Regions from separate parts of the Homo sapiens genome. Here all the other regions are linked to region 3. The links are contacts of gene promoters, found by promoter capture Hi-C in human tissues and cell types (Jung and others, 2019). All regions are on one chromosome and are shown on one strand. The core of a region is centred on a gene start or on the middle of the fragment in contact, and the rest is flanking DNA. Distances in the headings are between cores, read along the strand shown.

Evidence for each region. Contacts are between HindIII fragments. The study calls those that stand out against the background at their distance.
Region 1: a fragment that was not itself captured here is called in contact with the fragment with the promoter of METTL14 in region 3 in 2 of the 25 tissues and cell types used here (IMR-90 fibroblasts and hippocampus).
Region 2: a contact is called between a fragment that was not itself captured here and the fragment with the promoter of METTL14 in region 3, in 4 of the 25 tissues and cell types used here (H1 embryonic stem cells, bladder, dorsolateral prefrontal cortex and 1 more).

Annotation. Positions count from the first base shown.
Region 1 is chr4:119,286,682-119,289,381 of GRCh38, reverse strand. The region is part of intron 17 of USP53 (ubiquitin specific peptidase 53); the gene reads right to left. Among named protein-coding and RNA genes, the nearest start is that of ARLN, 13 kb to the left of the region's middle. The HindIII fragment of the contact is 6,576 bases long and covers 1-2,700 here.
Region 2 is chr4:119,536,472-119,539,171 of GRCh38, reverse strand. It overlaps PDE5A (phosphodiesterase 5A), which reads left to right. Exons shown (of 21, transcript NM_001083.4): 11 at 153-212. Among named protein-coding and RNA genes, the nearest start is that of PDE5A, 91 kb to the left of the region's middle. The HindIII fragment of the contact is 3,699 bases long and covers 1-2,700 here.
Region 3 is chr4:118,684,137-118,686,836 of GRCh38, reverse strand. It overlaps METTL14 (methyltransferase 14, N6-adenosine-methyltransferase non-catalytic subunit), which reads right to left and starts at 1,445. Exons shown (of 11, transcript NM_020961.4): 1 at 1,237-1,445. The coding sequence starts at 1,302. It overlaps METTL14-DT (METTL14 divergent transcript), which reads left to right and starts at 1,496. Exons shown (of 7, transcript NR_125930.1): 1 at 1,496-1,532; 2 at 2,370-2,429. RefSeq lists enhancers at 907-1,046, 1,227-1,486. The HindIII fragment of the contact is 10,452 bases long and covers 778-2,700 here.

The sequences.
Region 1 (2,700 bases), core at 132-2,631, 600 kb before region 3:
TTTACACTGATGACGCAAAAACAATAATGGGTAAAAATGTTAGCATAATTCAAGGCAGTAACACTAAACTGTACTAATTGTATTCTTCATTGCCATATACTTGTGTTTTTTAAGCCAGTTTTACTTAAAGAATGCTTGATGAAACAGTAACAATTATTTTATTAATTTACTTCATTTGCACATCTTTTTGTTATTCTATATGAGGAAATGGGAAATATGCATAAAGCACTTTTGCTGTGGTAATACTAAGCATGACACCTGTTTGAAGAAAACTTGTATCCACCACAAGTTTTGCAACTTCCCAATACTTATAAAGACTTTCTGCTAGTATCTATGGTGATAGTAACAAAAATAGTTTTTAGAAAGATATTAGTGAAATGTATCAACACTTGGAAGCCCTGCATAACTCAGCAAACCAGTATTTTTTTTTTTTTTTTTTTTTTGAGACAGAGTTTCGCTCTTGTTGCCCAGGCTGTAGTGCAATGGCACGATCTCGGCTCACTGCAACCTCCGCCTCCCAGGCTCAAGCAATTGTCCTGCCTCAGCCTCCTGAGTAGCTGGGATTTCAGGCATGCGCCACCACGCCTGGCTAATTTTTTATATTTTTAGTAGAGACGGGGTTTCTTCATATTGGTCAGGCTGGTCTCGAACTCCAAACCTCAGGTGATCCGCCAGCGTCGGCCTCCCAAAGTGCTGGGATTACAGGTGTCAGCCACCGTGCCCGGCTGCAAACCAGTATTTTTTAAATGACCCTACATGGATGTTACAAAATCATGCATGAGTAAAGTATCCATTCAAAGTGCAAGACAGACTGATGTATTTTAATGTAATGGAGGACGAAAAGTTAAATACTATGGTTTCAGATTTCACACTGCATTAAAGAAACTACTACTTGGTGTAGTGTCAAAGAATAATATCCACAATTTTTAGGAAAAGCTATTAAAATATTCCTATTTCCAACTGTATTATCTGTGTGTAAATGGGCTTTCTTCATACATGAAAACATCACAACAGTCTGATGCAAAAACAAGAATCCAGCCATCTTACATGAAGCCAAGCATTAACTGAGATTTGAAAGCATAAAACAATGCCATTCATCTCACTAAATTTTTGTTTTCAATAGTTAATTTTCATTTAAAAATGTTATTTGTGTTAGCATGTACTGGGTTTATTTCTTTAAATGAATAAATATTTTGAAAGTTTCAGTTTTAGTGCCTAATCTAGCAAATGTTGATAGACATAACCTATATAAGACATAACCTATATAAGACATAACCATAACAAAAGCTCTTTTAGGTCATAAATCCTTTTCTAAGATTATAAAGATATCTGAGGCCCAAAAGTTTGACAACTACTGTTCTAGTTGGTAATAGTTGTCTTTTAAAACATCAGTCACAACTGTTCTGTGAAACAATTCCCCTTTTTACACTTGAGGAAACTTAGGCTCAGTGAAGTTAAGTGACCTAATCTATATTCTATATATCTGGTAAGTAGGAGCATTTAAACCAATCCAGGGTTCACTCCAAAGCTAGTGCTCATGCCACTGCACTATGCCATTAACATACAAAGACATTATACTAAATCTCCTTCTGATGAAACTAGGCCACTAGTGTGAACATCAAATAACATGCTGATGCCCATAGAAGATAGCAAAATATATGGCATTAGCATGAACTGTCAATTAATCGTCTACACTTCTGTAACATTTCTAGTAAGTTTTTCTGCATTCTCCCGTATTTTTAGTTGACATTTTCATCATGTTCATTTATCTCATTTTCCTCTCATTCTCCTGTTTCTACTTTACTGTACACCAAATCTATGAAGACTGCAAAGAAAACAAAGTTATTAAAGCAGTGATTTTATTTTTTAAACAATAAGTGTTCTTTATCTTAGATATTTTTTAGGTATTGCCCTATAGGGGAAAAATAATCTATATTTGATTATGATCAGGCTCTGCAAGTTAAATCTTGGAAGCAATTTCCAAGAAAGAGTCATGTAATATACATGAGAATTTAATACCCTCTATGCCAACATCGCTCCATATAGTAAATAATAAAAACTTAAGATGGTAGAATGAGAGGAACTATAAATCTGGCATTCATTTAAGATTTAACACGTTTACTTCCACTAAATTGCTGTAAGCGCTCTGATTATATACGTGCCTTTAAAAAAAAAAATTTGCCCAGAAGTTAACACAGTATCTAGCATACAAAAGACATTCAAATGAAGGTCTGCAGAATAAACAATTGCCTCAAAAACACAGTTTTACTTCTTTTAAGTCACCTCCACCCTGCCCATCATGTTCCCAACTCAGTGGTGCAAGACAAGTTAAGTATGAATTGAGACAAATCTTATCTTTCCCTCCCACTTAAGTCTATAAGTGCTATACTCATAACACTTTTAAAAAGCAGTAAAATTTATCCCAGAGTCTCTCTAGAAGGAATATATTATTTTTCATGTTTAAGAAAATCACTGTGGGTAAGCCTGACACACTGCCTGAGGCTCGAAAACTTTGCCAATCTTTTCAACAGCTATTTTATGATTAAAAAAAGATGTGACAAGAAATAAGATGTCAAAAAGAACTTCAATAATTTGTCAATGTTCACAGCTTAATTTTTAAGTTGAAATGTAATTTGCTACCCAGTGTGATTTTTAACTTCATATTATTAGCCAATTCATAATTTATTCACCAATTCATAA
Region 2 (2,700 bases), core at 139-2,638, 850 kb before region 3:
TCACTGTTGAAGAAAACAGCAAACAAGATTTGGCATTCTGAGGAGTCTAATTATCTCTCCAAGAAGACTTAGCAGAATTCCAAGCTTGAAGTTCTAGTCTACATGTGGTAGTTCTCTCCTGTGTAACCTGGACTTCTTTTCCTACCCTGTAGGTTCTGTCGTATCATGCTTCAGCAGCAGAGGAAGAAACAAGAGAGCTACAGTCGTTAGCGGTAATTATCCTCTTTCTTTTTAAAAATTACTAATTACAGACACCTAATTTAACCAAATTTGGTAAATATTTAGATGGATACTTATAAAAATGTTTAATTAACTCTGCTTTCTTGCAGGGATGCAAAGTCACTGATAATACAAAGCAAAAGGCATTAAATAACTTATACTGACTGTGTAATATAGTGTATGATTCTGATATTTGTTTTCCAGTAATTGTTATAATCATTACATCTTTTTGGGGCCAAAATTAAATTTACTTTTCTTTTAGTTCCTGGAGAAATGGGGACCATGAGGTGGTTGTTTGGCTAGGGTAATAACAAAACAATTTATAGTTTGTTACTGATACCTACTCTGTATTATCAAGAATTGAGAGTGATTTTAATTTCTGACCATATGGCTTATAAAATGCTGTTTGAAATTGGGGTCAAATAAGGTCAGTTCCTGAATTCTCTTTGCATTATTTAGCATACAATGAGAGAAAAGCACATGGATATGTAAGTAGATGTATGTTGTAGGTCTTGGTTTGGAATGGCTTGGTTGAGATTAATGAAAATTTGAGGCACTTTAACACTTTACAACCTAGGTTGTCCTCCTGTGTTTAAATGTATTTGCGATGACATAGGTAAGGGCCATGTGAGTTGTGACAACAGTTATGTAAGGAATGAGAAAAGTGTGAACAGATCATTGAGAGTCTTTTTCTGTCATCCTCATCATAGTTTGCCACATGCTAAACTCTTTGTGCCCTTATGTACATCTTCTCATGTAAACTGCACAACTGTTTTCTCATGTAAACTTCATAACTATGTTATGAAGGCCGCACTGAAGCCTGGAGAAGCCCAGTGACTTGCTCAAGGTCACTGCCATGCAGTGAAAGAATGAGGATACAAGTTCACCATCCAGAGCTTGTGCACAGAACACTGTGCTGAGACAGGAAAGATGATCCAAATATTTTGACCTTGGCAATTCAAAGAATGATGGTGACATTAATTCATAAAAGTGGAAATATTAAGATGAATATTAAGAATCACATGATTCAAGCAACACCCTTCATAGCTGCTCCTCCACTCTCTTTTACACAAAACATTATAATTTTTGAATAGTCTATATTCATTTCTTCCACCATTTACTTTTACCTTTTGCAGTTTCACTTCCCTGAAACTGCAGGTTTGATTTAGGACAAGGTAAGTTTGAGGTGCTGGTTGAACAACCAAGTGAACATCTTCAGCAATCAGAAAAGGCAGGACTCAAGCGATGAGGTGGTGGTGTTTAGAACTAGAGGTGGAGATTTGGGAGTTAACATCCCATGGTAGTGAAATCATAGGGGTGCATCAATTGGGAGAGAATGCAGAGAGGTAGAGAGACTGAGAACAGAACTCCTGTGAATATAGCCTTAGATGGAAGGAACAGGAAAAGAAAACAGCCAAGAAGGTAGAGAAGTGGTAGTTAAACAAGGAGGAAGATTTAGGATAGTGCAGTGGCACAGAAGGCAAAATAAAGTAGTTTCAAAAAGGGAGGAGATCTCATCAGTGGTAGGAAGGATGAGAAATATGAGGATTGTGAAAAAGCTGCTGTGGATTCGTTGATTAAGTGATTATTGAGAACGCAGTTTCAGGGAAGTGAAACTGCAAAAGGTAAAAGTAAATGGTGGAAGAAATGAATATAGACTATTCAAAAATTGTAATGTTTTGTGTAAAACAGAGTGGAGGAGCAGCTATGAAGGATGTTGCCCGAATCATGTGAAGTTTTTTATTGTTTGGTTAGGTTTTGAATGTGTGAGCTGGCATTGCTCACAAGCAAGAGAGGCAGAATGTTCTTAGGCAAAGGCGGAGGCACAGGAGTCAGTGTGAGAATAACAATGCAAGACAGTGAAGAGATAAGGACCTTGAAGAGGGCTAGGCATGAAAGAGCAACATTTCTTTTGCCCAAACAAGAGGATACAGATAATAATAATAGCTACATTTGTTGAGCACTTCCTGTATACCGAGCGTGTTTTAAGTTCTTTGTGTAAGTCAACTAAGTTTACTGAATCCACAACCTAAATGATCAGTATTGTTAGCATTTTGTAAGAGGGAATTTGTGGCTTAGAGAGTTTCTATTGTGCTTCTCAGGATCTCATTAGGTTGTAAGGAGGGAATGGTGCCAGTACTAAATCCAGGCAGTCTGGATCCAGAGCCCACACAAGATTGCACAGCACTGGAGAGAGAGTAAGTTAGACAGAACAAAGTAAAATGAGGACTTGTAAACATTTTCAGTTAAATCCATGAGTAAGAAACTGAGTCATTTGCCAGTGAAACTGAGTTAACTGCCAAGAACAATTCTATGAACTTTAGATACTAATTGCACCTGAAAGGTTAAGGTCCTTTTTGAGTTAACCTCATATGGAATTGTCTATATTTATTTTGTATGTTGATGACAGTATTTGAAGTGATGAACAGTTTTTCAATTATTTACAAAGCTTTACAGGTTTAAAGTATTATTCACCTCAGG
Region 3 (2,700 bases), core at 196-2,695:
AGAGCCCCTGGCATCTGCTGAGTGTAAAACACTAAACAAATAATTGTCCTATGAATGTATATTGAGTCAAATAGAAGTTTGAATTCAATATTAAGGAGTAAAACGTCTTCTGTGGTAGCAACAAAGAGCTACTTAACATTTTTGAAGATAATACGATAAAAGAAGTTGGCGAAAAGAAGACTTAGAAAGGATACTTGATTTGCCCAAGATCGTAATGCCAGCGGGATAAGGAACAAAGGAACAAATCTGACTCCAAGTTTCCACGGTTTTAGCCATATTCCACAAATCTGTTCATCAGACCATAAAGAGGATAGGTTTCAGAAGTCCATTTACTAAAACCAAGTTTCATTACTGAAAAATAACTGCAAGATGACTAATTACACTCTATGAGCATTGCTCCTATCACTTTTACTGATCTGAATAGTAGAATGGAAAATACAGCCTCGATTTTAAGTAGAACTGTGCACAATCTGTATTTTCTGCATGTGCACTCTACTAATCAGCAAATGTTAACTTACTCATACACAAGAAAGAAGTGAAGGACAATGGTTTAGAAGACAAGCTTTGGGGAGACAAACCTAGGTTCTATTTCCCAGCAGAGAAGTGAGCGACCAGGAGTAAAATTCCTTAACGTATGGAGCCTTTTTCATTACTTGATAAGTGAAGGTAATAATACCTGTTTCAGGAGATTATTGTGACTAACACAGAGTAAGATTTCAAATATTAACTGTGGATGTGACAAGGATACTCTATATAAGATGCAGAATCTAAAATTTACACTCAGGCTACTTCCAGTGTTGTCTTCAGAAAGATGTCAAAGAAAATACTGTAAACGTATTTCATAATGAAACCACAATCTCAAGAATTTGGGGCTGACGACGAAGAAAAGAAAGAAATAGATGACCATTTAATAGTGAAGAGAAATGTAGGGGATAACATGACACTCATCCTGGCGTGAACATGCCAGACACTCGGTGGGAGTTCCACAAAGCTTAAAGGCTAATCCTGGCATTCGGTTTAGCACCACAAAGACCGCGGAAGGAACTGGAAAAACATTCGGGACACCGCGAAAATTGAGAACTACAAAGGCAGAACCAGGGATCAAGATCGCAGGACCAGAAAGGCCTTAACAGCGGCAGGTAGAGAAGGGACAGAAAAAGGCGGGGTGTGGAGGGAGGAGGCGGCCGCGCACTCGCATTCTCGATCCCTCCCACAGGGGACACCAGGGCCGCGGACCTGCTGCGCGAGGAGCTGTCGCCGTAACTTCTGCCGCTCCCGGATCTCCTGCAAGCGGCTATCCATGTTCCAACTCCGGCTTTTCACTATCCCGAGTACTTGTCAATCTCCAGTGAACTCTTATCCAACCTTTCTTCCGAGTCTGTGGAACAAAATTCACCGGGAGCTTACGAACAGAGTATCCTCATAGCTTTCCTCAGTAGAGACTTCCGGCGCGGCCGGAATTGGCTCGCTTGGCCCGGAAGTCCCGCCTCCTTCTGGACGCTTGCTATGTGACGCCACTTGGAAGGGACCCAGTAAGGGATCTGTTGCGCCACAGGGGTCTCCAGGGCCCTCGCAGGTTGGGGTGGTCTGAGCTAGTCTGAAGGAGGACAGTCAGCTGACTTCTCCTTTATCTCTCTTTCCCAGGATAGCAGGTTCCCTTGGTGTATTACAGTTTCTGAAGTGTTGATTCCCTTTTCAATTGATTCCACAGATGACAGTCCTGACGTTTAAAAAATTGCCAGATAACCTTTAATTTTTTTTTTTTTAACAGAACACAAACTTAAGCCAGATTGCCTAGGATTGAACCTTGGCCTCTCACTTCCTAGACGAGTGGCCTTGGCTAGTTAACCACCTTCGTGAGCCTCAGTTTTGTCATCTGTAAAATGGGAGTCATAAGTGTCTACCTCACAGAGCTGTGATTGAAAGGATAAATAGCACCTTGCACATAGCGGTGTAGAAGTGCTTGTTATTGTTAATATTTTATTTACCTTCACGCAGGTAACAGCCACAACATCTGCCCACTCTTCCCCACACCTTACTGTCCCTTGAAATGTTTCCCATTTTACTATAGTATGCATTTTTTGGCTTCTTCCCTTTAGGGAAATGAGTATGTGATAGTAAAGCGTGTCTTGGTTTATGTCCTAGGAGTCAGAAGCTAAGAGACTCCTTTTTGTGCTTGTACATTTGTCTTAACTGAAAATAACCCAAGGATAAGGAAACAAATAGCTTCCTGAAATTACTCGGATTGCGGGGGTGAGGGGTGAGGGCTGGGGGGTGGTGATTCTGTCTTCATAGGATGGCAGCAAAGGCCAAAGTCTTATTTGAGTTATTACCATTATTATTCACCACACTTGCCATCTTATTTCAAGCCTACAGTGGCGGAAGTGGAGTAAGACATCATGTTGCCTCAAGTTTAATTGGAAATCGCGGTAAGTACTTAACAAAATTAGTAATAAGTCTGTTCTTTCAGAGTAGATTTAATTTTCAGAAATAATATTAAGTCATCCAGATCAAAACCAGTTGAGTCAGGCTGGGCCAAAAGTGGGCAAGACTAGATTCTACTTAGTCATGCCCACTTTTATAGAAATAATTATAATGTATTTCCGAAGAACTAGGTCTGAAAGACAATTTTGAACAAGTAGTCCTAAACAATTCCTTGAGTAATGTCAGCACTACTTGGATACTGTAAAATATTTATGT